Regions from separate parts of the Homo sapiens genome. Here regions 2, 3 and 4 are each linked to region 1. The links are contacts of gene promoters, found by promoter capture Hi-C in blood cells and fetal thymus (Javierre and others, 2016). All regions are on one chromosome and are shown on one strand. Each heading gives the region's core, a stretch centred on a gene start or on the middle of the fragment in contact. The rest is flanking DNA. Distances are from core to core; before and after follow the strand shown. Region 1 holds the start of RNF183 (ring finger protein 183). Region 2 overlaps LOC105376223 (a long non-coding RNA gene). Region 3 holds the start of LOC105376223 (a long non-coding RNA gene). Region 4 overlaps LOC105376222 (a long non-coding RNA gene).

Region 1 (7,167 bases), core at 3,358-5,857:
CAGATGGGGTTTCACCATGTTGCCCAGGCTAGTCTCGAACTCCTGACCCCAAGGGATCTGCCTGCCTCAGCTTCCCAAAGAGCCAGGATTACAGGTGTTAGCCACCATGCCCGGCCAGATTTTGCATTTCTAACAATCTCTAAGTGATGCCTATGCTGCCGGAACTGTCCTAAATGCTAGACAAGCCTCAGGCAAGGCTCTGAGTGATGATGACATGGTGGCCCCCTAGGGAGAGTTGCCCTCTGCCCTTGACTGGGGCCTGCTAAACACTGACCATGCCGGATTCTAAACCTGCTGCACTCATCACCTTTTCTCCATCCTTCTGCCCTCTGCCACCTCTTCCTTCCCAGATGAGTTAAAACCACCCCACGCCTCTGCTCCAGACATTGGCTGGGCTCCACCGAGTCTCATGACTCTTCACTCACCCGGGTCTAAGGTACTGCTTAGGTGAGGTGCTTTTCCAGATGGCTGATCTTGCCCCCACAAGCATGAACTTTATAAATTAGTTTAACTCTCAAGTTCCTGAGATGCCTCACTATCTCTCCCGGGTATCTCCCTGGAAAAATTTTTCACTGTTGGCAAAGCACTCCTTAGCCTGACCACCCACAGACATTATGATAATGCATAGACTCACTAGACAATTAGTGACCTGGAAAAAAGCCATGACTTTTTAAATTTTATTTTATTTTTCTGAGACAGAGTTTCGCTCTTGTCGCCCAGGCTGGAGTGCAATGGCGCGATCTCGGCCCACTGCAACCTCCGCCTCCTAGGTTCAAGTGATTCTCCTGCCTCAGCCTGCAGAGTAGCTGGGATTACAGGCACCCACCACCATGCCTGGCTAATTTCTGTATTTTTAGTAGAGACGGGGTTTCACCATGTTGGCCAGGCTGGCCTCGAACTCCTGACCTCAAGTGATCTGCCTGCCTCGGCCTCCCAAAGTGCTGGGATTACAGGCCATGCCTGGCTATGACTTATTTTATTTTTATTTCAATGCTTACAATGTCATGACTGACTTCTTACCTGCCCTACCTGCTTATCTTTTTAAGTTCTGGATACCCTGGTTGCAGAAAACTCAGACTTAACTTACTTTCTAAGTGAACTTTCTTACTACAAAAGTAATACATATTTGAGAACTTGGAAAATGTAAGCAAGAAGAAAGCGAAAACATGAGTGGCCATCACCCAGAGATAAAATTGTGACATTTTGCCTCATGGTCTTGCAGTCTTTATACATAAATTATGCTTTACAAAATCTGGCTTATGCTACATTCTCTCTTTCTTTCCTTTTCTTTTCTTTTCCTTCCCCTCCCTCCCTCCCTCCCTTCCTTCCTTCCTCCTTCCCTCCCTTCCTTTCTTCCTCCCTCCCTCCCTTCCTTCCTTCTTCTTTCCTTCCTTCCTTCTCCCTCTCTTTTCTTCTTTTCTTTCTTTTTTTCTTTTCTATCTTTCACAGGGTCTTTGCTCTGTTGCCCAGGCTAGAGTGCAGTGGTGCAATCTGGGCTCACTGCAGCCTTGACTTTCTGGGCTCAAGTGATCCTCCCACTTCAGCCTTCTGAGTATCTGAGACAACAGGCATGTGCCACCACGCCCAGCTAATTTTTTATTTTTTTATTTTTTGTAGCAATGGGGTCGCTAGTCTTGAACTCCTGGGCTCAAGCAATCCTCCAACCTCGGCCTCCCAAAGTGCTGGGATTATAGGCATGTGCCCAGCCAACATGCACCGTTTTTTTGTTTTGTTTTGTTTTGGTTTTGGTTTGTTTGTTTGTGTTTTTTTTGAGATGGATTCTCTCTCTGTTGCCTGGGCTGGAATGCAGTGGTGCAATCTCGGCTCACTGCAACCTCCGCCTCCCAGGTTCAAGCGATTCTCCTGCCTCCTTAGCCTCCCAAGTAGCTGGGATTACAGGCACCTGCCACCACGCCCAGCTAAGTTTTTTTTTTTTTTGTATTTTTTAGTAGAGACGGGGTTTCAACATATTGGCCAGGCTGGTCTCAAACTCCTGACCTTGTGATCCGCCTGCCTCGGCCTCCCAAAGTGCTGGGATTACAGGCGTAAGCCACCGTATCCGGCCAACATGCACCATTTTTAAGCTGCTTTCCCCCTCCATTTACAGTATACTGTGACCATTTTTAAAAGTCAATGAAAATCTTTCTATATCATTTTAAATGATTATGTAGTTTTTCACCTAATTGATGGGGTTTTGGAGTGTTTTCAATCATTTGTGATTAAAATAAAACTGCAATGAATATCCTCACTCAACCAAAATATATCTTTTTGATGCTTCTGGGGAATTACATGATTAGGTCAAAGTAGATGAACTTCTTTATGTTTTCTTATGTTGCCAAGCCAGAAAGCGTGACTTCCAAACTCTCAAATACAAACCAGGTTCTTTGGACTAAATCAGTGTCTCGAATCCCCAGTAACCTCAGTTAACCAGTAGTGACACCGAAAAGCAGGGAATTCCAGAGCTGAGAGGAACTTTGAGGCCATCGGTGATCATATACCTCGTCTCCAGCTCAGAAAGAGGAGAATTACTTAGACATTTTCTTTAGAGATCTAAAACTTCCCAAAGTCCACAGTTTTATTTTCACACAATTCTAGGCTAACTTAAAATCAGCATTTTTGCATTATTCTTTCATTCAATATTTATATATTTATAATGAGGGGGTTAGATCAATAGGGGATTGGTGAAGTGATTTATGGTACAGCCATTCAATGAAATCTGATACAACCATTAAAAAACCGAAGAAGGTCTTCTTTTTTTTTTTTTGCTCTGTCGCCCAGGCTGGAGTGCAGTGGTACAATCTCAGCTCACTGCAACCTCTGCCTCCCAGGTTCAAGCGATTCTCCTGCCTCAGCCTCCTGAGTAGCTGGGACTACAGGTGTGCACCATGACGCCGGCTAATTTTTGTATTTTTAGTAGAGACGGGGTTTCACCATGTTGGCCAGGCTGGTCTTGAACTCCTGACCTCAAGTGATCCACCCGCCTTGGCCTCCCAAAGTGCTGGGATTACAGGTGTGAGTCACAGCGCTGGGCCAAAAACCGAAGAAGGTCTTTATGTACTAATACAGAATGATATCTCAAATACATCATCAAATGAAAAAAGAAAAATGCAGAACAGTGTACATAATATGCACATTTGTGTAAAAAGGAGGTAAAGGAATACATAGATGTTTTGCCATGGACATGCTGTTTGTGTATGTATAAAACATCTTTGGAAAGATACACAACAAACTGATAGTATAATACTTTGATTTCCAGGGAAACTAGGTGGCTGCGAAGAGACAGTTTTCACTGTGAAATCAAACCATTCACATGCTCAACCATGTAAATATATTACCTATTTAAAAATCAAATGTGGGCACGGTGGCTCAAGTGTAATCTTAGCACTTTTGGCAAGTGGATTGCTGGAGCCCAGGAGTTTGAGACCAGCCTAGGCAACCTGGAGAAACCCCATCTCTACAAGAAATACAAAAATTAGCCAGCCACGGTGGCATGCACCTGTAGTCCTAGGTACTCAGGAGGCGGAGGTGGGAAGACTGCTTGACCCCAGGAGGTTGAGGCTGCAGTGAGCTGTGATCGTGCCACCGCACCCCAGCCTGGATGATAGAGTGAGACTCTGTCTCAAAATAAATCAATACATAAAAATTAATGTAAAAAAACACAAAATGCGGGGACTAGGGCATTTGATTACATCACCAAGCAGATACATTTATTTACTTGTTTATTTCTCAAGTATGGCTGAAAATGTCAGTAAAGAAATAAGGGGCCAGGCGCGGTGGCTCATGCCTGTAATCTCAGCACTTTGGGAGGTCGAGGCAGGTGGATCACCTGAGGTCAGGAGTTTGAGACCAGCCTGGCCAACAAGGCGAAATCCTGTCTCTACTAAGAATGTAAAAATTAGCCGGGCATGGTAGCGCGCACCTGTAGTCCCAGTTACTCGGGAGGCCGTGGCAGGAGAATTGCTGGAACCAGGGAGGTGGGGGTTACAGTGAGCCAGTATCGCCCCACTGCACTCTAGCCTGGGCGACAGAGCAAAACTACGTCTTAAAAAAAAAAAAAAAAAAGAAAGAAAAAAAAAAAGAAAGAAAGAGAGAGAGAAAGAAAAGAGGACCATAGGTACAAAAAGAATTTGAGCGGGAACAAAAGATGGGCCACGTGAACAGACCGGTTATAACAATAATAGTTCTGGTTAACATTTAGCGAGTTACTGTCTGCCAGGCCCTGTGTTATTACGCGATCTCGACACGTATTACCTCATTTAATCTACAGATCAAGTAGGTAGGTTATTATGGCCATTTTCAGGTGAGGAAACTGAGGCTGGCAGAAGTTAATTAATTTGCTCAAGTCTCCATCGGTAGTTAAACGGAGTTTGGATTCTCAGTGAGGGCTGAACTCTGACCTAGAAGTGTGCCTTGCTTGAGAACCCTGGCTCTTCAGGCAGACGCTCAACCGTCTCCCGACTATTTTTCTGCTGTATTAGTGGCCGCTTTTGTCAGTATTTTGCAAGAGCTATCTGTATTTTGGTTACAGGGACTCAGCATAGGGAAGGATCCATCTCGGCAGAAGCCAGGAGTCGAGGCAGGTCAGCGCACAGAGGACAGTGGAATCCGAGGGGATGGCAGGAGATCAATCGGACCCAGAACAGAGGCCTGCAAGGATGAGCGCACTTGATCCCCTCAGAGAAAAAGCCAGAGTGACTCACAGGAGAAAGACAAAGCAACCAAAGCTTCCAGGGTGTACAGGAGGTCCAAAGTCACCAGAAGGAAGAAGAAAACCTGAAACAGCGAGAGCTGGCCAAACGCTGCTAAGACCTATGCAAATAAGACCCACCCACGCTACCTGGAAATCGGGCCTGGGAAGTCAGAAAACAAAGCACATGCGTGCAGGGCTGCACGAACGGAGGCGGAGGAGGCGGCTCCGAGGGAGCAGGTAAGGAGACAGAGAGGGTCGCGGAGGGACGGGTCACAGGGCTCCAGAGTCCAGAGAGGCAGCAGCCGTGCAGCGCGCGACAGGTGAACTCTGGCCTGGGAGGGCAGGCTACTGGGTTCATCTTTCAAACTCAGCCACTCTTTAGCTGGGAAGACTTCGGCAAGTTGCCTCACCCTTCTGAGCCTTGGCTTCCCCATCTAGAAAATGGGTCTAAAAATAATCATGCTAACTCTGTATTGAGCGCCTTCCGTATTCTACTGGGCACCGTATAGACTATTCCTTCCCCAGAGCAACCTTGTAGGAGTGGGATGATTAGCCTTTTTTACAGAGGAAAATGAAGTTCAGAGAGGTTAAGCCATTTGTCCAAGACAAATTGTTCCAAATCTGGTTCCAAAGCCGGCACCTTTCTACTCCCCATTCAGCCTCTCTCACAGGGTGGTTTTAGAGTATCAAATGGCTTTCTGCAAACAACAACAAAAAATCCCAAAAGGCTAGTAACCTATCTAGATGGATCACCACACTTAGATCTTAGCAAGGGCCAGGGCCCTTTGTAAACTGTGAAGTGCTATGGAAATGCCAGTTCTTGGTTGAAAACAATGGAGTGATGCTGGGGACAATTGATATTTGGCGATGACTTGTTCATAGACCAAGGAGATGACTTTGGGGCGGTGTTTAGGATTTACTGTAGCTGAGATGTCCTGGCTTGGGGTGGAGGTGATACATGGCCAGAATCTCTCCCCAGCTGATCCTGAAACAGCAGTGGATCCCTGGGAGAGCAGCACAGATAAAGATCCAGGCAATAATGATGCTTCCTCCTCTTGGACAGCCTTTTACAGTTCTGGCCATGGAACTTCAGAGAAGGTAGGTCTGATTTGGGGGGAAACAGGAGATCTTGACGTGTAGTAATACAAGCTTACTGGATGGAGTAAAGTTAGAATTTTCAGGTAAGAGAATTAAAAAAAAAAAAAAAACTTATAATCTTGCCCCCAGAGATAACCACTGCTAATATCTGGTTGTTTATCTCTCCAGACATTTTTTCCATTGCACACACACTTTTGGAAATTGGATTATATGGTAATATGGTTTTGTTGCTGGTTCTTTTTCGCTTAATGACATTATATCCTAGGTATATATCCATATTAATAGTTTTACCACATCATATTAAAGGCTGCATAATATCTCTTCCTATGGATGGAGCAGAATCTACTTAATCAATGTCCTATTACTGGATGATGACGTAGTTCTCCATACGTCACCGTTAAACCAGCGCCTGGATGGGCATCTCTTTACTCACATCTTTGCAGAAGTCCTTGATGGTTTCCGTGGAATCGATTCCCAGTGGGGGAAATGATGAGTCAAGGTTACATACAGTTTACGGCCTCTGGTAAGTATTAAAGATCTGCTTCTAACACACTCTGGGATTCAGGGGCTTCTCAAAGCTTGATGCAGAGGACTTTGTCACGGCTTTGAAATCAACCTTGACCCTTCCTTTCTCTCAAATCCATTTGCATTAATAATTTCAACTGCCTCATATATCCATAACAATGTTTTGATCAACAGTGAATTACATATGTGATGGTGGCCACCTAAGATTATAATACCATATATTTACCTTGCCTTTTCTAAGTTTATGTTGAAAGACACACGCAATTATCATTGTGTTACAATTGCCTACAGTGTTCAGAACATAATAAGCTGTATGGGTTTGTAGCCTAGGAGCAACAGGCTAGACCGTATAGCCTAGGCATGTAGCAGGCTCTACCATCTAGGTTTGTGTAAATACTCTCTGTGCTGTTCATACAACGATGTGTTTCTGAGAACATAGTCCCATTTTTAGGTCATGCATTGCTTTGTGGTCTTTACTGGGTGCTGGGCTCTAACTAAAAGCTTTACTAGTTTTGGCTTCCTTTGCACAAGGAGAAATAGAGGCACAGAGAGGTCAAGCAATTCAACTGGAATCACAGCCCTAAATAGCCATGGATCTGGCATCATGAACCTTGACAGAAACTACAACTGGATCCCTAGAACTCCACTGCTTCTTGGGAAGTGGCTTTGATTCTGTCCCCAAAGATATCACTTATCCCATCCCCTTTTATCTCCTCTGCCACTGCCTAACCTGCACCACCATCACACGCCTGAGCCACACTGCTGCAGCCCGAACGGGTGTTCCCTTCCCGATCTTATCCCTCTCAGCCTGTCCTCTGCTCTGCAGCTAGAATGGTGTTTTAAAAATGGAAATA
Region 2 (7,167 bases), core at 1,285-3,784, 360 kb before region 1:
CATGACACAAATTAAGGAATTATTGGGTGAAATCTGGCTTGAGGGAAATAGATTAATCAGGAGGGCACCTAGTGTAACAACCAACCTCAAAATTTTCAAAGGCAAAACACCATAAAAGTTTAGTTTTGCTCATACAACCATCCCCCAAGGGTGTTTCTGGTTATAAAGCTCTCCTGGATGGCTCTCCTCCAGGGGGTGACTCGGGATCCAAGCTCCTTCTAGCTTGCGGTGCTGTGGGATTTTCTGCATCTGGCCAGCAGATGATGTAAGAATGTGGAGATTCGCATGAGGAGGTTTTCACAAATCAGGCCTGGAAGCAGAGTATGTCACCTCCATCCACATTCTATTGACCAGAACCTGAAGACAGGCCTGCACCTCACTGCAAGGAGGCTGGGTAATGCAGGCTACATGTAAGCCCAAGAGGAAAAGGGAAGTGGTTTGGGGGAAACTAGCCTATCTCTGTCACAGAGGAGCTGCCACTGGGAAACTCAGACCCGGAGAGGAAAAGTTGTTTGCTGATGGTTACCCTTCAGGTTGGTGACAGCAAGGAGACCAGAATCTTACAATTCTTGATTCTCAAATCCATCATTTTCCCCTTTTCTGTAGTGGGCATGCTTATCAATATGTGGTGAGGTCATGCTGCTCTGAAGTGTCAGGAAATAGAAAATCAGTCCAGCAAGCTTTTATGAGGGCCTGCTATTGCAATTGGTAGAAAGACAACAAATAGGCCGGAGGCGGTGGCTCACGCCTGTAATCCCGACACTTTGGGAGGCTGAGGCAGGGGGATCACAAGGTCAGGAGATCGAGACCATCCTGGCCAACATGGTGAAACCCCATCTCTAATGAAAATACAAAAATCAGCCAGGCATGATGGTGCGCACCTGTAGTCCCAGCGACTCAGGAGGCTGAGGCAGGAGAATCACTTGAACGCAGGAGGTGGAGGCTGCAGTAAGCTGAGATTGCGCCACTGCAGTCCAGCCTGGGCAACAGAGCAAGACTCTGAGAAAGAAAGAAAGAAAGAAAGAGAGAGAGAGAGAGAGAGAAGGAAGGAAGGAAGGAAGGAAGGAAGGAAGGAAGGAAGGAAGGAAGGAAGGAAGGAAGGAAGGAAGGAAGGAAAGAGAAAGAGAGAGAGAGAGAGAGAGGGAGAGAGGGAGGGAGGGAGGGAGGAAAGAAAGAGAGAAAAGAAAGAAAGAAGGAAGGAAGGAAGGAAGGAGAAAGAGAGAGAGAAAGCAAGAAAGAGACAAATATATGATTTTCTGCCTTCAAGTAGCTCACTGTTTCCCAGGCAAAGGGGACCATGTGCCAGGGGCATTCAGAGTAGAAAAGAAATGGTATCCGGCCCCTTAGGAGACAGCGGTGAGCTGAGCCTCAAAGGGCAGGCAGGGCTTTTGTGTTTGTTTCAATTTTGTTGTGTTTCTGGGGTTTTTTGTTAGTGTTGTTGTTTTGGTTTTTGTGCTTTTTCTAGTTTTCATGGAGGTGCCATTTGGGCTATAGGGCCCTGGCAGTTAAGGACATTAAATATTTATTCACAACCCAGCGTGACCTCTCCTGGATGTCTATCTCAGAGACATCTCCTCTCACACCCTGCGTCTCGCATCTTATGGTACAAAAAGAAGCCCTGCCGCCCCTTGAGGCTACTCCAGCAGTGTAGTTTGGAGGATCAGGGACTTTGAGACCACCAGGGTGTCCATTGCTGAAGAAATGCATGAGAAAAATGTGGTGAATTCTCACCATGGAAAAACATTGTGCATGGTTATAAGCAACTATTACAGACCATTGAATATACTTCGGTGCTAAGAGAGGAAAGAAAAAAAAAAACCAGACTGAGAGCTACGGCACGGAATTAGTCATGTTAATTAAAAGCAGATATACACAGAATAGCACAACATGTTTTATAAGGATTCATGCATATTTAAGAACATATATCAAATACATGAGGGAAAATGCCCATGGGGGAAACAGAATGGTGGTGGGAATCAGGGATAAATGAGAAAAAGGTTAAAAAAAAAAAAACCCAAACCCACAAAAAAGGTTGTGTGCAGTTCAACAGTGAGAATGTGCCAGGGGCTGGGAGATGAGTACCTTTGCTCTCTGTAGCTGAGTCTGATAAAAACAGAAAGATGGTCGGTGGCGGTGGCTCACGCCTGTAATCCCAACACTTTGGGAGGCCGAGGCAGCCGGATCACCTGAGGTCAGGAGTTCGAGACCAGCCTGACCAACACAGAGAAACCCCGTCTCTACTAAAAATACAAAATTAGCCAGGCATGGTGGGGCATGCCTGTAATCTCAGCTACTCAGGAGGCTGAGGCAGGAGAATTTCCTGAACCTGGGGGGCAGAGGTTGTGGTGAACCGAGATCGTGCCATTGCACTGCACTCCAGCATGGGCAACAAGAGTGAAACTCTGTCAAAAAAAAAAAAAAAAGTCCTGGTGCAGTGGCTCACACCTGTAATCCCAGCACTTTGGGAGGCCGAGGCGGGCGGATCACGAGGTCAGGAGATCAAGACCATCCTGGCTAACACAGTGAAACCCCATCTGTACTAAAAATACAAAAAAATGAGTCGGGCTTGGTGGCGGGCGCCTGTAGTCCCAGCTACTCGGGAGGCTGAAGCAGGAGAATGGCATGAACCTGGGAGGCAGAGCTTGCAGTGAGCCGAGATCGAGCCACTGCACTCCAGCCTGGGTGACAGAGCAAGACTCCGTCTCAAAAAAAAAAAAAAATCTAAACAGGGAAAGGGCAACCCAAGGTAGCAGGGTACCACACATAAGCCAAGACCTGGAATCTTCTTCCCCCAACTCTTCACTTAACCAGCTCCTTCTTATCTTCAGTCCTTGATCTGAACGTCCCCTCCCGAGAGAAGCTGGACCTGCTTGCCTTATATAAAATGCCCTCATCATTCCCTATCGTAGTCCTGTACTCTCTTGCGTATGCAACACACACTTTGTAATTTAAAATGCAGCTGCTTATTTATGGTCTGTTTTCCTCACCAATCAGCAAACTCTCTAAGGGCAGAAAGTCATTTTGTCTTACTGCCCAGCACACCAGCAGGGCCACACCTAGAATTAGTTTCAGCTCTAGGTCAAGCACATCACATGTATTGGCTTATTAAGCTCCCATCCCAGCTCTATGAGATGGGTCCTATTATTCTCTCTATTTTATAGAATGGAAACTTGGACACAGAGAGGTTTAGCAAATTGCCTAACACCACACAGCTGGAAAGTAGATGAGCTTGGATTTGACCCCAGACAGTCTGGCCCTGGAGTTCATGTTCATATCCGCTTGCTATACCACCTCTCCATACCACATTCACAGGGTGTACAGTGACTGAGTGAAAGAATGAATAAATGCAGGGGAGAACGGGGAGGTGGCCTGGATGATTACACCAGCATTAACAAACACGTTTGGGTGCAGCTTCCATTTCTAAGTTGTTATGCTCTAAAGAGTTATTTTTCCTCTAAGATGATAATCTTAATAAATTATAGAAAATTCTTTAGCTATTGCTTTTTATGTTATGGCCTGGGGTGGAGCACAGGAGAGTGATGAATGACTTTTTAAATTTCTTCACATTGGGTTAAAGAACTCTCCAAGACAAGACCTCATGTAGAATCTATAATTAATTATTATTCACACTTAATACAGTTAGATAATGTGAACACATACTTTCCATTAATTTATGTGGCCGATTCCTCATCATTTTCCCATAGGTATAGTTCACTGATTTCTCGAGTTATTAAAAATTAAAATTCATATTAGGGAGTTAGAGGAGCCTGGTGTCCCTATGCCTATTTTTAGTCTAAAGTCACAAGCTGGGTGGGAGCTTAACGCAACTGCTTCCTTTGGACAATTCTTTTGTTGTTGTTGTTGAGATGGGATCTTACTGTGTTGCTCAGGCAGGTCTCAAAGTCCTGGCCTCGAGCAATCCTCCTGCCTTGGCTTCCCAAAGCCCTGGGATTACAGGTGCCAACACCGTGCCTGGCCTATTTTATTTATTTATTTATTTATTTATTGACAATTCTAAATTAAAGGGAGTGGGTGCATTTACTCTTTTATTTGTTAATTCCTTAAAGGTTGACCAGTGACAGTTGATTGGTGACAATCCTGGGCCCACATGCTTGGGGGTCTACAGGGAAGACCAACAGGTGTCTGTTCCCAGTGAGCCCACTGCCTGCTGGGGAAGGCGGACAACGACCAGCTGCTGAGTGCTACCCAGGAGGCTGGGGACGAAGGGTACCTGGCCTAGACTGGGGAACGGGCAGGAGAAGGCGATGTCCGAGCTGACGCTTGGAGGGAGAGTGGGAGTTAGACAGATGGAGAAGGAAGGGAAAGGCATTCCAGGAGCAGAAACAGCATGTGCAAAGCATAGGAGGTAAGAAAGGCATGGAAGCTTCCAGAAGGCCAAATACTTCATGGGGGGAAGCACAAACATGGGGCAGTGGGAGTGAATGCTGGAGAGGGGCAGGGGGCATCATAAGAAAGTGCTGAAGAAAAAGAGAGAGGATGGTACTTTCCAGAAACCTCCATACAGGGATCTAAACACTTAGGGTGATCACAGATCCTTGAAGCTCATAGAGACCAACTCACTCATTATAAAGGTGAGGAAACTGAGGCCCACCTGCTTTAAAAACAAAAACAAAAAACCTTCATATCCAATGAATTCATCCCTGCCAAGGTCTCTGGGGCTAATACTCTCCATATGGCAGGGGCATTTACATTCCAGTTCCTGGGCACTACTCAGAAGGGACTTTCAAGAGGCGTGACATTGCAGACAGGAGCCCAACACTTCCCACTCAGGAAGCTCTGCAGGTGGAATTTTTCAGATCAGAGAATTGCAGGTGCCCTCCTGGTTACAACACAACCAGAGCCACTCCTGATTTGCATATTCTGCATAACTTTGCATAAAGCATTGACAAGCCTCAGAGCCTGTAAAAATAAAACTAATTAGAGTAGTGTCTTGCCCTAGTATCCAGACTTTGCATCTAAGAGGAGGGGAAGGGTCATCTTTGTCCTCTCTACTGCCCACTTGAGTACAGCTATTGGGGCTGGTCAGGGAGAGAAAGAGCCAAGGACAGTACTGACTTGGAGTCAGGCTGGGCTCTAATCTCAGCATTTCTGCTTCCTATGTGTGCAACCTTGAGAAAACCATGTCACTCACTGAAATTCAGTAAGGGGCCACCAACCCTATATATACAAAGGAGTGAGTAGAGTCATATGCTCTAGTATGTCCAGCATGCCTGCCACAATGTCCAACACATATTCAACACTCAGCAAATATTTAGATATGTGAGTCTGATCCAGGTGCAGCGAAATTTCCCACCTAATAATCAATGCCGGAAAATTTTGATCTCATTTCTGAACGAATTTCTTGCCTATACCTCCCAGAAAGGAAATGACCCATATCCCTAAAACAGAAGGGAAATCCCAGGTCCTGAGAAAATCACCGTTGACTGCGGAGTTCGTGAAATCAGAACATAAAATCCAACCTAGTGGGAAAACTGAAGCCCGGAACAGGAAAGTAAAAATCAAGGGCTGGAACCCAGGTTTCTCACCTTCCTGCTGGAGTTCCCACAGCTGCCCCCTGTAGACCTGGATTGAGGCCATTTTTTTTTTCCTGTTTTGGTAGTCCTTGGGATTCCAACCCTGCACGGATAAATCTGGCTAGAGATTCCAAAGATCAATGCTGCTTTCGATACTCTCTCCCTGCGGCAAGCTCACGACATATTTTTTCGCAAGTAATAATTAGCGACAGAAATATCTGACCTACTTACAACTCCACAAATACACACACTTGGCTGCCTGCACATCAGTTCCAAGGCCGTCAGAAGGAGCCTGTTTGGGAATAGCTTTTTTTAACCCGGTTGGATGCCACTTCTGTGGTGGGCAGTTTGGGATGCTAATTTCTGCCCACCTTACCTTTCAAGACTGGCACTGCCCCCTCTGTGCCCTGCCTCCTCCCCATCGAGGTGGCTTTTCAGGCCCTGAAGCTGGTGATTATTTTTACATTCAGTTCCCACAAGCAGAGGGGACACTGAGTCGTGGTTGGAAAGATAGATTATGCATAGATCTTTTCAGATTTCTCAAAGCAACTTAGGCAACATTGTGGTTTTTTTGTTTTTTTAATGCTAAACGAAAAAGGACAGTCTGGTGAATGTCCAGTTGTATAGTGTTAGTTCTGCCCTTGCATTTTGTAAACCCAGCCCTTCAAGGTTCAGTCAGAGTTTCCTACTCATCTCCCCTGTGTACTTTTACCTGGTGCCGGGATAACACCCCTCCCTTTCCCTTACCCTCAAATGCTTTCCTAGAATCTAAAATGTTCTTAGCAAAATTAAACTATGCAGGATCTGTGGTCCTGGGACAAGGCAGGGACAGGCCAGCGCTGGAAGACCTCGGTCATATGGCCAGAACATTCTGGAGCTGCCCTGTGGGAGGCCATGCTCCCTTCCAACTGCCTCTCCCAGAACCCCAGCACCACCAACTGTTGGGATTCAGCCTTCAAGTGACACTCGCTGTACTGCTACCTGCTAGTGAGGCATGGTGCAGGCTGGTGACGGTAGCGAGGGCACCTTTGTTGAGTTCCATAAGCGTTTATGGGGTACCTGCTATTGAGCCTGGAGACACGGTGAAGAAGACCTGTCCTTTCCAGTGCAGTTTATGGCTTTGGGCTGGCTTAAGCTGCCAGCGAAATAAACCCAAGCTACCAGGGTTTTAAACATCCCTGAAACTAAATAAGATTCAGGAAATGTGTAGTGAATGACCAGAGGGAGAATGTGGCACAGGATGGGAGACAGGAGGGGACTTCCTCCAGTCAGCAGACATCAGAGAAGGGTTCATGGGAGACACGCACCTGCACCTTATCTTATTAGTGTTTTCCAGGTGGGGATGGGGTCAGAGGGAAAGGCCACTGCAGCCCAAGGGAGCAGCTTGTGCAAAGGCAAAAAGGTCAGTGGAGAACGTGGAGCATTTGGGAAGCTGCATAAATGTCAAAGGCAGCATGGAAACTGAGGTTGGAGCGGGAGGTATGATGAGATTGGAAGGAACTCTGGAGAACATGGAAGGGATTCAGACTCTAACACGAGGGCAAAAGGGAGTCAGTCAATTGCTTTAAGAAAGGAGTCACATGATTCAGTTTGGACTTTATAGGTTCCTAATGCCAAGCACCATCTGGATAAG
Region 3 (7,167 bases), core at 2,011-4,510, 340 kb before region 1:
GTTTCTTTCTTAAACCAAACAGATTAAAATATTCTGGTCCAAGGCAGCCTCGTGTGAGTCCGGTCCCCACACGGCTCTCACAGTCGGAGCATCCTCCCCAAGCCCGAGGGCTCCAGATGGAAAGGCTCTTCTGGGCAGCGGGCCAAAGGCAGCCCAGGCACATCTGCTTCCACTCAGTGCCCTCAGCCGGCCGCTCTGCCAAGGCCTTGGCCCACAGCCTCTCAGGCTCTCAGGGGCCTGGAGAGAGCGCTGGGTCCCATTATGGGGGAGACAAAGGCCCCTGGCAGGACAACACTTGTAGCTTGCACGTGGCTCTCCCGGCCCTGCACCAGCAGCCAGGCCTGCTCCCAGCCCAGACACCAGGAGGCCAGCCAGGGCAGATGCTTAGTGACTCAGGTGGCAGAAAGAGAGCCCACGAGTGTTTTACGCAGATGCAGGTCCTACAGGGCTGAGGGGCAGGGAGGGAAGGGCAGCCACTCAGAGGTGTGGCTGCTGGAGGGGAGGCTGAGGGGCAACCTGGGCCTGGTGGTGGAGGAAGGTGTTGGTTTTGGCATCAGACCTGAGTTTGAATCCTCGCTCTGCCACCTCCTAGTGGGGCAACCTCAGGCACACCCTTCGCCCTGTCTGGTTTCTCATCTGGAAGACGGGATGATGATGTTACCAAGTCTCACGATCACTGTGAGAATTACGTAAGTCCAGGCATGCAAAATGTCTTACATGTAGTGATGCCAAGCCAATAGTAGTTGCTGTGGTTATTCTTATTATTATTACTACTATAGACATTCGTGTTGGGGAGAATGAAGGAGGTCCCGGTTTTATATCCTGCTCCCAATACATTGCCCCAAACAGCAAGCAGACAGGCATCTAGAAAGATGCCACTACAGCCACAACACAAAGGGACAGAGAAGTCCTATGGGGACTGGGTAGGTGGAAACAGCTGGGAGGTAGAGGCGGGGCCCTGAGGCCTGTCCTGTCCATATCCCACTGTGTAGCCCCAGTCCACCTTGACCTCACAGGGCTTCAGACCTGAGTTCAGGCTCTGACCTGAGTTCTGAGACTCTGGAGGTCTTCACTCAGCAGCATGGTTATAAAATCTATTTTAAGAGTGAAGGACAATGGAGCAAGCCCTGTGGGTCTCCTGGGACAGAATGGCCTGACCCTCTCTACCAGAGCAGTGCGACTTCCCAGCAAGGGCATGGCCACTAGGTCAACAAGCTTTCAGCCAGTCTTGAGAACCTCATTTCTAATGGCAAGGGCAGCCTCAGGGTCTAGGGTTCCTCTGGGGACAGGGGACAGGGGACAGGCTGATGTGGTAGCTGCTTTCTATGAGGCTGCACTTCTGGGATGTGGCACTTAAAGGGAGGGGACTGACCACTCACGGGCACAGTGTCATTCTTTCCCCAAGAATTGTGATGGTTTATTAGTTGACGTAGAAATATTTGCTGAACACTTACTTTGCATTCTGGGACAAAGGTGGTCCAAGCAGAGCAGGGCTGTGGCTGAGAAAAACCAGGGAACAACTGTTGCCCTCAGAATGGTCAGGGAGGGCTCCTCCAAGGAGGCATCAATGCATGAGAAGGCACTAGGTAGAAAGAAGGAGGCAGAGATAAATATACCCCAATTTTTCTCCTTTCTCTGTGTCCAGATCTTTTGCCCAGTGATCTTATAGCTGGTTCTTATCACTAAAAGGGCAGAGTCTAGCACCAGGCGCAGTGACTCATGCCTGTAATCCCAGTACTTTGGGAGGCTGAGACAGGAGAATCACTTGAGCCCAGGAGTTCGAGACCAGCCTGGACAACATACAGAGACCCCCATCTCTAGAAAAAATAATTAGTCAGGCATGGTGGCAAACGCCTGTAGTCTCAGCTCAGGAGGCTGAGACAGGAGGATCGCTTGAGCCCAGGAGGGCAAGGATGCAGTGAGCCATGACTGCACCACTGCACTCCAGCCTGGGCAACAGAGCAGGACCCTGTCTCAAAAAAAAAAAAAAGAGGCAGAGTCTGTTTCCCCACCCTTTACTCTGGCCCTGGCCATGTGGTTTTCTTTGGGCAGTAGGATGTTAGGAAATGACCCACACAGAGGCTGAAAACATGCTTCAGGATTCTGCCTTTTTCCTTGGACTCCTGCCTTCACCCCAGCAGGCCTGCTAGGGAGAAGGAAAGGCACATGGAAGAGAAGCCTGGTTATCTAAGTCACCCCAGCCAAGACTAGCCCAGACCAACCAACTGTCCATCAACCACCAACACGTGAGGGAGCCCAGCCGAGATCAAGATCCACAGAACCACCTGCTCCACCCGCAGCTGCCTGCAAATGCTTGAGTGAACTAGCCAAGACCAACCGAGATCCACCAGTGCCACCAAATCGGCAGAGCTGCCCAGCCCACCCACCGCCTCCCAAGAAACCACAAATGGTTGTTGTTTCAAGTCACTAGGTTTTGGAGTGTTTTGTTACCCAGCAGTTAACTGAGACTGATAACTGATACAGGGGGAGGGCATTCCAAGCAGTGGGAACAGCAATTGCTCAGAGATAAGAAAGAGCTGGGTGAGTTGTGAGAAACTGAAAAGAAGGCCAGCATAACTGGAATGCAGTGAAGGACCAGGAGGGAGAGAGAAAATGAGATCCCGGAGGTGAACGGGAGTCAGATCACGCAGGGCCTTGAAGGCCATTGAAAGGGCTTGGACATTTTTTAAGTACAGTGAAAGCCAGCGGTAGGTTTTAAGAACATAGTGGAGCCAGGCAGCAGGAGGCAGGGGCCAGGGCAGGGAAACCAGTGCAGGCATTTGATGCAATTAACTTTAAACCTCCGTCTGGCCACCCTCGGGGGATGGATTAGAAGGACCAGGAGCAGAAATGGAAAGACCAGTTATGGGGCTCTCCCCTTTGCAAAACAGGTCTCAGGCACTGTTCACACCAACCCTGCAAAGTGTACATATGGGGAAACCGAGGCTGAGGGAAGGGGAGCAAATTGCCCATGGTCATACAGTGAATCCCATGGCAAGGGTAAGATTGGGACCCTGGGCTCCTGATTTCTAGTCCAGAATTTTCTCTCCTGTTCCCCTTGGGCTTTACCAAGGAGCCAGAGGAAAGAGGTTCACCCCCACCCCGACGCTCACACACTATGCCTCTAATGCCGTCTGCCATCTCTCCATCCAACCACCTCTCTGCCCATTTCTAACACTGGATGAAATTTCTTCTTCCCCACACTATCCTCAGTCCCCTCAGACTTTCATCTCTGGTGCTTAGGGCTGATTTGGGTTTAACTGTGATTCTTTCTGTCTTGAACAGCTTCCTAACTAACCATTCACTGCAAGGCACCCTCCACCCAGCTGCCAGAGGGATCCTTCTGGCTCTGCTCCAGAATTCTCCATGCCTGCCATTGCCTTCAGAATAAAGTCCAATCTCCCTAGCCTGGCAATCGAGTACCTCCGCGATTGGGCCACCTCTCCAGCTTGAAGAGCATGAACTCTACAGTTGGATTGTCTGGGATTCAAACTCCACTCTATTTGTGGGACAGGAAGCAATCTCCTAGACTCTCTGAGCCTCTACTTCCTTGAAGCTAAAATGGGTACAGCAATAGGACTCATCTTGCCCAATCATGGTAAGAACTGACTCACCTGCCTGCCGGTACCTGGCTTGTAACAAGGGCTCAGTGAATGGCTGCCCTGTCGCCGCTGCCCTCCCTGGCAGGGTCAGTTCTCATGAAACTGCACTCTGCGGGGGGTCCCTTCAGTCACCAGCATTCATGTTGTGTTTCTGTTTCCACCATCATGAAGGTGAGAGTCAGGAACTTTGGTCCTATAGAGCAGCAGTCCCCAACTTTTTGGCACCAGGGACGTTTCGTGGAAGACAATTTTTCCACAGACAGGAGATGGGGATGGGGAGGGATGGTTTTGGGATGAAACTGTTCCACCTCAGATCATCAGGCATTAGTTAGATTCCCATAAGGCGTGCAGCCTAGATCCCTCGCATGCGCAGTCCACAACAGGGTTCGCAATCCTATGAGCATCTAAGGGCTCTGCTGATCTAACAGGAGGCGGGGCTCTAGCAGTAAAGCTCACTCACCCGCAGCTCACCTCCTGCTGTGCCTCCCGGCTCCTAACAGGCCACAGACTGGTACCAGGGGTTAGGGACCCCTGCTATAGAGGACAAGAAGTTTAGATTTCCCAGGTTCGTGAGTCTCAGAGTTTGTGAATATTTTATCTGTGCACACGCATGGTAACCTCCTTGAGAACCAGACCCACATCTAGTGGGGGTGTGACCTGTTCACTCACCCAAGCAGGGGGCCTCAAAACCAGGCTTGCCTCCAAGCCCTCCCAGCTCACCTGGCTAGGCCACCCTTCTCCATAAGATCATTCCATGGGTCTCATGGCCCTTTCCTGCCCTGGAGACTCAGATGGAACCACCTTATCCACCCTGCAACTGAAGCAGATCCTGTAGTTAATTGAGAAATCCTTCCAATGACCTCCTTAATCAGGCAGAGTACTATACTATCTTCTAAAGGCTTTTTACCCAAGTAGTCATCCCTGCTCTGTACCTACTCAATTTGCAAGAGATCTAAGGGAGTGACTATCTACACCGGAACCCCAAAGACCGAAGCCTTCTGGCTCTACCTTCTGATTAATAGCCTGATTAAGAAGGCCATTCAAGGTATTCTCAGTTAACTGAGGGATCTGCTTCAAGATGATTTTATGATCCCACTTCTCTTGATTAAAAAAAAACTAATGAGTCTCTGCCTTCTCAGGTACCCTATTACATCTGGATCATCTGATTTTTCTTGTAATATACACAATCTCGTTTGTGTAAGAACACATTATAAAAATGATTTAAACCATCAGTAAGAATATCAGCAGTGCTATCAACCAACTGAACTTAATTGACATTTAAGGAATGCTCCACCCAACAACAGCAGAATACACATTATCCAAGCACACATGGAGCATTCACTAAGACAGATCACATGCTGGGCCATAAAAAAGTCTCAACAATTTTTAAGAGATTGAATTATGCAGAGTATGACCTCTGGCTACAACAGAATTAAACTGGAAATCAGTAACGGAAAGATATTTTGAAAATTTCTAAATATTTGGAAATTAAAGTCATTATAAATAACACATGGATCAAATAAGAAATCACAAGGCAAATAAGAAACATTTTGAACCAAATAAAAATGAAAACACTGTATATTAAAATGAGTGGGATGTAGCTAAGAGAGTGCCTGAAGGGAAATGCATAGCTTTAAATGTTTATATTAGAAAAAAGATAGGGTTAAAATCAATAATGTAAGCTCCCACCTGAAGAAGCTTAAAAAAGAAGAGTAAATAAACCCAAAAGAAGGAGAAGGGAGGAATTATTAGTGAATAGAAATCAATGAACTAGAAGGAGAGAAAACAAATGGAGTAAATCTATAAAACCAAAAGATGGAAAAAAATAATAAATCTCTAACCAGACTGATCAAGGCAAAAAAAAAAAAAGAATAAAGACACAATTACCAATATCAGGAACTCAAAAGGTACATCAACATAGATCCTAGCAGGATAATAAGGGGATTTTACAAATAGCTTTTTCCCAAAAAATTTGACAACTCAGTGAAATGGAAAAGTTTCTTGAAAGACAGAAATTACCAAAACTTAACTTAAAAAGAAATAGAAAATCTGAAAACTTCTATATCTATTATGGAATTGGATTTGTAATTAAAAGTTGCAAACAAAACAAATTCCAGACTTAGATGGCTTAATGATAAATTCTATCAGACATTTAAGGAAAAATAACACAAATATTATACAAACTCTTTCAAAATGAGTTGGAGAATTTTCCAACTCATTTTGTGAGGTCAGCATTCCCATGACACCAAAACTAGACAAAGACAATGCAAGAAAAAGAAGGAAGGAAGGAAAGAAGGCAGGGAGAGAAGAAGGAACCACAAAACAATGTTCCTCATAACCAGAGAGGCAAAAATGTTTATATTTTAGCAAACTGAATCCAGAAGTGTATAAAATGACTGACTACATTTATCCCAGGAACACAAAATTGGTTTGACATTTGAAAATCAATTAATATTAATCACAATATTGGATAGAATAAATGAGAAGAGCCATATAATTATTTCAATAAATTCAGGAAAAAAATGACAGAACTCAACGGTCATGCATGATTTGAAACTCTCAGCAAGCCTGAAATAGAAGAAAATTCTTCAATTTGACAAAAAGTATCTATTAAAAACCTCATGTAAAAATCATATTTAATGGTGAAGATTTCTTTCTCACTAAAACTGGTAACAAGTCAAAATATCCATTCTCACCACTTAGATTCTATACCATACAGGAGGCACTAACCAATGCAATAAAGCATGAAACAGAAATAAAATACACAATCCCAGCAAAATACATACATATGGGATGAGACAGAGTAAAACAATATTTTAAAATGAAAACACAAGCCCCATAATTGTATACATAGAAAATCCTAAGAAATCTAATAAAAAGCAACTAGAACTAATGAGTGAGTTTAGCACAGTTCCAAGATATAAAGTCAATGTTCAAAACTGAATTGTATTTCTATGTACTGGTAATGAACACTTAAATATTGAATTTACAAAATACCATTTACAGACGTGTCCAAAAAACATGATATATATAATGATATATTTAACAAAATATATGTAATACTCTAGGAGAAAAACTATAAAACATCACTGAGTGATATTAAGGAACTCCCAAAGAAATGGAGAGATAATATATTCTTTGATTGAAAGCCTCAATATTGTTAAAATTGATCTATATATTCTCCCCCAAATTGATCTACAGATTCAACGCAATCCCAATCAACACTTAGCAGGCTTTTTTTTTTTTTTTTTGGTAGAAATTGACCAGATGATTATAAAATGTATATGGAAAACCAAAACACCTAGAATAAAATAAGTTGAAAAAGAAGAACAAATTTAAAGGACTTAAACCACCTGATTTCAAGCCAATTATAAATCTACAGTACTTAACGCAGTGTGCTACCGGCAAAAGGATTGACATAAAGATTAATGGAACAGATTAGAGAGACCTAAAATAGACCCAAGCATACACAGTCAATTGACTTTGACAAAAATGCCAAGGTAATTCAATGGAGGGAAAGATGGACTTTTCAATCAATGGTGCTAGAACAACTAGATATCAATAT
Region 4 (7,167 bases), core at 3,091-5,590, 320 kb before region 1:
CCAGCAGGTTGAACAAGCCAGACTGGTAATGTAATCAAAAGCACAACTTTATTTTTGTGTTCCATTATCTCTTTAAAATGTAGTCAGTGGGACAACTCCAGGAAGGGTTGGGGGGGGCGACTTTTTTGCTGTCTTAGTAATGACAATTCCTTTAAATTGCAAACACAGTCCAAGGCAATCATGTCTATTTCTAGACCAGTGCAGAATTTTCTGGTCTAGAAATAGACAGAATGTCAGTTTCTTCTCACCTCCAATCCCATTCTCCAGGCTGCAGTTTCAACCTAGCGAAGGTTTGAGTAGTAAGGAAGAAAGAGGGTTAAAGCGAGTGCACAGAAGAGTTCTTTCTCAGGTCATTTTAAAATTGAGACAAACATGACATTTCTTACGTGTCTCAGTTTGTGGTTGCATCTGTATCTGCTACGCACACACACACACACACACACACACACATATTCTAATACTGTTACTTTTTAGGAATTCTCGTATGTATAGAGTATGGTAGATATTGCAGCTAAGTTATGTAACCTTGTGGTTTCCCTTTAATAAACCATGAACACCGTCTTCTCTCATTGCACATACTTTTAATTTATTTTTTGAGATACAATTCACATAACGTAAAACTCACTACTTTAAAGTGTACAATTCAGGCCTGGCACGGTGGCTCACGCCTGTAATTCCAGCACTTTGGGAGGCCACAGCGGGTGGATCACCTGAGGTCAGGAGTTCGAGACCAGCCTGGCCAACATGGTGAAACCTCGTCTGTACTAAAAATATAAAAATTAGCCATTAGCTAGGCATGATGGTGGGCGCCTGTAATCCCAGCTACTCAGGAGACTGAGGCAGAAAGAATCACTTGAATCCAGGAGGCAGAGGTTGCAGTGAACCAAGATGGTGCCACTGCACTCCAGTCTGGGCAACAGAGTGAGATTCTGTCACAATAAATAAATAAATAAATTGTACAATTCAGTGGCTTTTAGTATACTATGTTGTACAACTATCACCACTACCTAATTCTAGAACATTTCTATCATCCCCAAAAGAAATCTTATACCTATTAACAGGTCGGTGCAAAAGTAATTGCAGTTTTTGACGTTTTTTATTTTAAGTGGCCAAAACCGCAATTACTTCTGCACTGACCTAATACTAGCCAATCCCCAACTCCCCTTCCCCTCATTTCCTGGCAACGAATCTGCTTTCTATCTGTCTGCATTTGGCACCTGGATAGGTTATATAATTGGAATTCTACAACATTTGACTATTTGTAACTGGCTTCTTTCATTTGGCATAATACTTTCAAGGTTAAACATTTCAAGTTGTAGCATAAATCAGTACTTCATTCTTTTTTATGGCTAAATAATACTCCACTGTTTAGACAGATCACATTTTGTGTATCCCTTTAGCAGTTGATCAACATTTGAGTTTTTTCTACTCTTTGAAAATTATTAATCATGTGCTGTGAGCATTCATTTACAGGTTTTTGCGTGAATATATTTCCACTTCTCTTGGATCTATACCTCGGAGTGAAATTTCTGAGTCCTGTGGTCAATATTTTTTATTTTTTTCTCTTTTTGAGACGGAGTCCGGCTCTGTTGCACAGGCTGGAGTGCAGTGGCGCTATCTTGGCTCATTGCAACCTCTGCCTCCCGGGTTCAAGCAATTCTCCTGCCTCAGCCTCCTGAGTAGCTGGGATTATGGGCACGTGCCAACACACCTGGCTAATTTTTGTATTTTTAGTAGAGATGGGGTTTCACCATCTTGGTCAGGCTGGTCTTGAACTCCTGACCTCAGGTGATCCACCTGCCTCATAACTCCCAAAGTGCTGGGATTACAAACATGAGCCACCGTGCCCGGCCCCTATGGTAAATCTATGTTTAGTTTTTTGAGGAACTGCCAGATTCCACATCCACTTCCAATTTCTCCACATCCTCACCAAAAACAGTTATTTTCCCTTTTTTAAAAGTTACAGCCATCCTAGTGAGTGTAAAGTGGCAATTCATCATGGTTTTGATTTGCATTTGCCTAACGACTAATGCTGTTGGTCATGGATATGCTTTTAAATTATGATTTTAATTGCCATGCAAATTCCATTGTAGGTTACTATATTTTTAATTGGCTATTATTGAATATTCAAGTTGTTTCTATTTTTTCAAATTCACTCATACATATAAGCCTTTGTGAATCATAATCATCTCTGATTCAATGACATTCATCCATTCACTCACTTATTCAATAGCTATCTACCAAGCCAGGCCTGTTCTAGGTGTTATTGCACAGTACTGAGCAAGACAAAACAGATCTGATCTCTGCCCGCCTACAGCAGACGGTCCAGTGATTTATTAAATGTTTGTGCAAATAAGTCGATCAGCAGGCTGACAAGTATCAGTAAAGAAACACACAGGGCACATATGTAAGAGGAGCGCATCATTCAGAGTGGGTGGCCAGGAAAAGCCAGCCAGGGGTGGGAGATGGGGAAGAGCATTCCAAATAGAGGGAACAGCATATGCAAAGCTGTTGAGAAACTAACAGAGACCTGAGTGCCCGGAGACGGGGGCAAGAGCAAAGAGGGAGGTGAGGGCTAAGGTGGAGGGAATGGAAGCGGAGGTAGGCTGGACTGTGCTGATTGGCAGCCCGCTGCGGGAGGGCTGAATACATTGACAATTGTTTTATTTCCAATGTGCCATTTAAAAATAGCAAAGAAGGAATGAAGAGAAGGAAGAAGTGGGGGAGAGGGGATTTCTGAGGATGGAACACTTAAACAAATGGGGTCCTGCCCTATCTGTGCCTACACTGGCCAAGGTGAGCATCTGTCAGTTGTCCAGCCCGTCAGTCACCTGCCACTGTCTATGCCTAATCTCAACAGCTTACACCACACATGATACTGAGTGATCTCTACCCCTGGCCAAGTGGGTATTGTGACCTAACAGCAGTCAATCTTGAAGTTGGCCAGTGGGCTGAGAAGTGGCCTGGTGTGGTATAAAATATAAATATTTGGTCTTGGTCTCTAATTCCTGGCACAGAGCTCCTAAAACCCCTGAACGTATTGCCTTTCATATGCTAATGAGATGACTTATGGAGGAGCCCTAGAGAGCTTCATGATGAGGGCTGGTTACCCCCACACCCCCTACAGCCTCCATGGGGGTAAGATGGGCTGGAGATTGAATTCAATCGCCAATGGCCAATGATTTAATCCATCATAATGAAACTGCAAGAAAAACCCCTAAACAACAGGGTTTGGGAGCTTCAGGGCTGGTGAACACAGGGACTCGCTGGGAGGGCGTGGAAGCTTTGTGCAAATCCCCCATGTTTTGTTCCCTGCATCTCTTCCATGAGTCTGTTCTTGAGTAGTATCCTTTATAATCCACTGGTAATAGTAAGTAAAGCACTTGCTGAGTTTTGTGAATTGTTCTAGTGAATGATCTAACTAGAAGGGGAGGTTATGGGAACCCTGAAATTCAGAGCCAGGCAGTCAGATGTACAGATGGTCCCTGGACTTGTGTGTGACTGGTGGCTAAAGGGGGACAGCCCTGTGGGGCTGAGCCCTAAACCTTGGGGTCTGCACTAACTCCTGGAGTTGGTGTCAGAATTGAACTGAATAATTGAACACCTAGCTGGAGTTAGGGAATCAGAGACCTCATATAAGAACTCACTTAATCCTTGGCCTGTCCTGGTGGGGGACTTCCAAACCAATCAAGTCCTCCCTCTGGGAGCATTGAGTGTAAGTTAAGAAGTTGGGAGTGAGAGTCGAAGCAGGAAAGATTCACAAAGGGAAGCAAAGAGAAACTGGGCTACAGAAGCCATGAGCTCACCGGAACTGGACAGCAAGAGAAACTACAATGAGGCAGAGGCCTCAAGAAGCAGAAGGCATGTGACAGAAAGGGGAGGAGAAGATGCAGGAGAGGAAGGGCAAGCTTCCTCTACCTATAGGGGCAGGTAGAGGAAGAGGCAAGCTGATCACCAGAGAAGGGCTGGAGATGACAAATTAGCCTGGATCTGAACAACTCTCCACTTCTCCTAAGAGCTTTCTAGGCTCTGAGAGCCCTGGCTAGGCTACGGCTGAGGTTCTGTTTCCCTCATTTCCTCCTGGAGTCTGCTGCAAGTGACCTGGCAGTGTCTGCTCCTTACGCTGTCTCTGGTTCCAGGCACGTGGGCCTGGGCTTGGCTCAGAACTCCCCAGCCTCGTTTTGCAGAAAAGGGATCTAGGAGAAGGAGAAAGCTCTGTAGAAAGGCATAGGAAATCCTCAGGGCGGGGCCGCCATGGAGAACAGGGGTGCTGGGGTTGGCATAGGGGTCCAGTGGGTGCAGCTCAGAGATCCAGGAGCCAAGAAGCACAGATTTGACTCTGAGTCACTGGAGGCCCCCGAGAAAAGGCTGTGCCCTCTCTGGGTCTCAGTTTCCCCATCTCTGAAAGTAGGTGACTTCTGCATCCCATTCCAGCATGAATATTTGTTGAATCTGTGACATGAGAGGAAAAATCATTTGCAAAAGAAAGAGCCAGAAACTTAGAAATCCAGTAGGCCAACACATGTTTGAGAAACACAACATCGAACATTCAAGATAACTAATACAATTTCATTTCAAAAATCTGAAGTTTAAAACTGCATAACGTCGAGATATTTGAAATACTGGGCTCTGAGGGCCGGTGGGAGGAGAGGGCTCAGGTCTGCTGACGAATGTCCTCCTCTACACCAAGAGGACAGCATCCACTCCAAGGCCAACAGAGCCCCAAAATGAAATCCCTCAAATTCCACAACGTCAGAAGAGTTCAAGCTTCTTAAAGTTCCCCAGGTTTAAAGATGCTCCAGATTCTAAAATGTCCAAGATTTCAAAAGATCCTGAAAGCTCTGAAGTTTCCCAGGTTCTCAAACTTTCATAGGTCTCAACTTCCCAAATTCTAAAAGTCCCAAATACACACTGTGAGCCTAGTCGGGATCTGGCTTGAGAAACTTGAAAGCACAGGGGCCACCATCTTTACTATCTGCTTTTTCTCCAGCCAGAGGCTGAGGCCCTCCCTTTGGGCATAGCTGTCCCTGAGGGTGAGGGAAGCAGGCAGTGTTTTCTGTGATCAGGGTGGTCCCCAAGTGGAGTAAGTTGGGCCTTCATCCTTCTCCATGCCTCCGGGAGCCCTAACCCTTCTCTCAGTAAGGACAGCTACTGTCTGGGGTCCTGGGCCCCCAGACTCACCTTGTCATTCATTCCCAATGGCTCTGTCCTCAAGAGCTTACAGTCTAGCGGGGCCACAAACAAGCAAGAGAAAGGGTCCCTTGAAAGGATGTTCACAGGGCAGTGGCCCGGCCAGGTGTGACCCCCTCTGGGGGGCCTGAGCTCCTGCCCTGCATGACGTCCTCACCTGCCGGCTGCACGCAGGTTACATCCCAAGGATGCCAGTCATCAGCTCCAGCCTCAGGAGGAAGCATCTTAGAGGCTCCAGTCCACGGCAGGTCAGAGGGCATCTCCAAGACCGCTGCCTGCCTTGGCTTCTGCTGTTTTGGACCTGCTGGTCCAACTGCCCATCCCAGGCCTGAGCCTCCACCTCGGCCCCATCAGGGCATCTCCAGCTCAGCTTCTGCTCTGGTTCTGCTGCTCCCTGAGCCAGGCCCCCACTTTCCAGCTCTGATCCTTCATAGGATGACTGTACCTCAAGTCTCAGGAGAGATGGAAGATGCCCGAGGTCAGCTCCCACCCCCGAAGTCAGGACCCCTCCCCAAAGGGCTGTTGGGTGGCACCAGGTGGAGGGAGAAGAGACTTTGGAGGGAGCACTGGCCCAGAACTCAGACTTAACTATATATCCCCAGGCTGCAATCTCTGGAAACATCCATTTCCTCCACTATAAAGGGGAATTTTAATTCCTACCCGACTCGGTAGTAGGGGAATTGGGTGACCGGCTGCCTCCCTACTTGTTAAAGGACCCTTCAGATGTACTCCCCTTCCTTTCCGTTCCCAAACCCCCAAACCCTGAGTGAGTGTTGGGAGCTGAAAATGTCAGTCTCCCCGGAATCAGCAGCACATAAGGGGTGGAGAGTCAGAGAATGGGTTTTAACACAAACACTAATTGTGGATCCCAGAATGGCCTCCCTGGCTCCATTCATGAGACTGGTATTTTTAGCCCAGGATCGGCTGCCTGTGGCCCCAGAGGGGGTGGCCAGGCCGTGTGTCATGTCTGAGTGATGATGGACTCACTTTGCCCAGGAAAAAAGCCCACAGGGGACTGCTGCCAGATCCCAGGGTTGCCACCGCATCCGGGAGGAGACAGATGTTCAGTTAAACCCTCTCATCCCCGAGGGGCACACTACAGGGTGTCAGGAATGATAGCAATAATTAATATGCATTAAGTGGGAGGCCGAGGCGGGCGGATCACAAGGTCAGGAGATCGAGACCATCCTGGCTAACACGGTGAAACCCCATCTCTAATAAAAATACAAAAAAATTAGCCGGGCGTGGTGGCGGGCGCCTGTAGTCCCAGCTACTTGGGAGGCTGAGGCAGGAGAATGGCGTGAACCTGGCAGGCGGACCTTGCAGTGAGCCGAGATCACGCCACTGCACTCCAGCCTGGGTGACAGAGCAAGACTCCATCTCAGAAAAAAAAAAATGCATTAAGCATTTCCTAGGTATCCAGCACTGTCGCGGCTTTACAGGCATTAACTTATTTAATCATTACTATGAGGTAGATACTATTATTATCCCCATTTTATAGATGAGAAAACTGCAGCTGGAGCAGTTAATTAACCTACTTGAGTCCACACCACAGTAGCGAGTGGAGCAGGGGGATTTAAAGCCAGGCAATCAAACTCCAAAGTCCATGCTCTTTCTGCCTGGTCACTTGGAATCTGGACCAGGAGTGGACAGTCTTCAATGGCCAGTAGGTCCTCCTGCCTCAGCCCATTGAGTTTTCTGGGATTGCAGAGTACATCCGGTCCTTCCCTCCTGCAGAGGTAAGGAAATTGAGGCCCACCATGATGCCCAAGGTTAAGGAGCCATTTGGCCCTAATTCCCAAACCACAACTTTTCCCACTGAATGACTCCATGGGACAAGTTCATTTTGTCACCCGCTCGCCTCCTCAGCCTATCCCCAGCTCCCAGATCAGATGAGCTTGCTTTAGGGCAAAGAGCCTGGACTCTGGATGCAGATGTGAGCCCCGATTTTGACGTGCTATGTGACCTTGGGCAAGT

The links. The method cuts DNA at HindIII sites, captures the fragments that hold promoters and counts their contacts. A CHiCAGO score of 5 or more calls a contact.
Region 2: a contact is called between a fragment that was not itself captured here and the fragment with the promoter of RNF183 in region 1, in 5 of 17 cell types (naive B cells, activated CD4 T cells, naive CD8 T cells and 2 more). The highest score is 6.4, in naive B cells.
Region 3: a contact is called between a fragment that was not itself captured here and the fragment with the promoter of RNF183 in region 1, in 14 of 17 cell types (fetal thymus, naive CD4 T cells, total CD4 T cells and 11 more). The highest score is 10.7, in fetal thymus.
Region 4: a fragment that was not itself captured here is called in contact with the fragment with the promoter of RNF183 in region 1 in 4 of 17 cell types (erythroblasts, naive CD4 T cells, naive B cells and 1 more); the score reaches 7.3 in erythroblasts.

The regions. Positions count from the first base shown.
Region 1 is chr9:113,300,816-113,307,982 of GRCh38, reverse strand. It overlaps RNF183 (ring finger protein 183), which reads left to right and starts at 4,607. Exons shown (of 5, transcript NM_001371237.1): 1 at 4,607-4,927; 2 at 5,670-5,788; 3 at 6,232-6,311. RefSeq lists a cis regulatory region at 316 and enhancers at 232-401, 2,167-2,336. The HindIII fragment of the contact is 12,929 bases long and covers 1-4,726 here.
Region 2 is chr9:113,662,988-113,670,154 of GRCh38, reverse strand. The region is part of intron 2 of LOC105376223 (a long non-coding RNA gene); the gene reads right to left. Among named protein-coding and RNA genes, the nearest start is that of RGS3, 200 kb to the right of the region's middle. The HindIII fragment of the contact is 3,704 bases long and covers 683-4,386 here.
Region 3 is chr9:113,642,290-113,649,456 of GRCh38, reverse strand. It overlaps LOC105376223 (a long non-coding RNA gene), which reads right to left and starts at 1,582. Exons shown (of 3, transcript XR_930254.3): 1 at 1,455-1,582. RefSeq lists enhancers at 1-276, 277-777. The HindIII fragment of the contact is 4,085 bases long and covers 1,218-5,302 here.
Region 4 is chr9:113,623,920-113,631,086 of GRCh38, reverse strand. It overlaps LOC105376222 (a long non-coding RNA gene), which reads right to left. Exons shown (of 4, transcript XR_007061739.1): 2 at 6,729-7,167; 3 at 5,348-5,642; 4 at 2,296-4,452. Among named protein-coding and RNA genes, the nearest start is that of RGS3, 160 kb to the right of the region's middle. The HindIII fragment of the contact is 859 bases long and covers 3,911-4,769 here.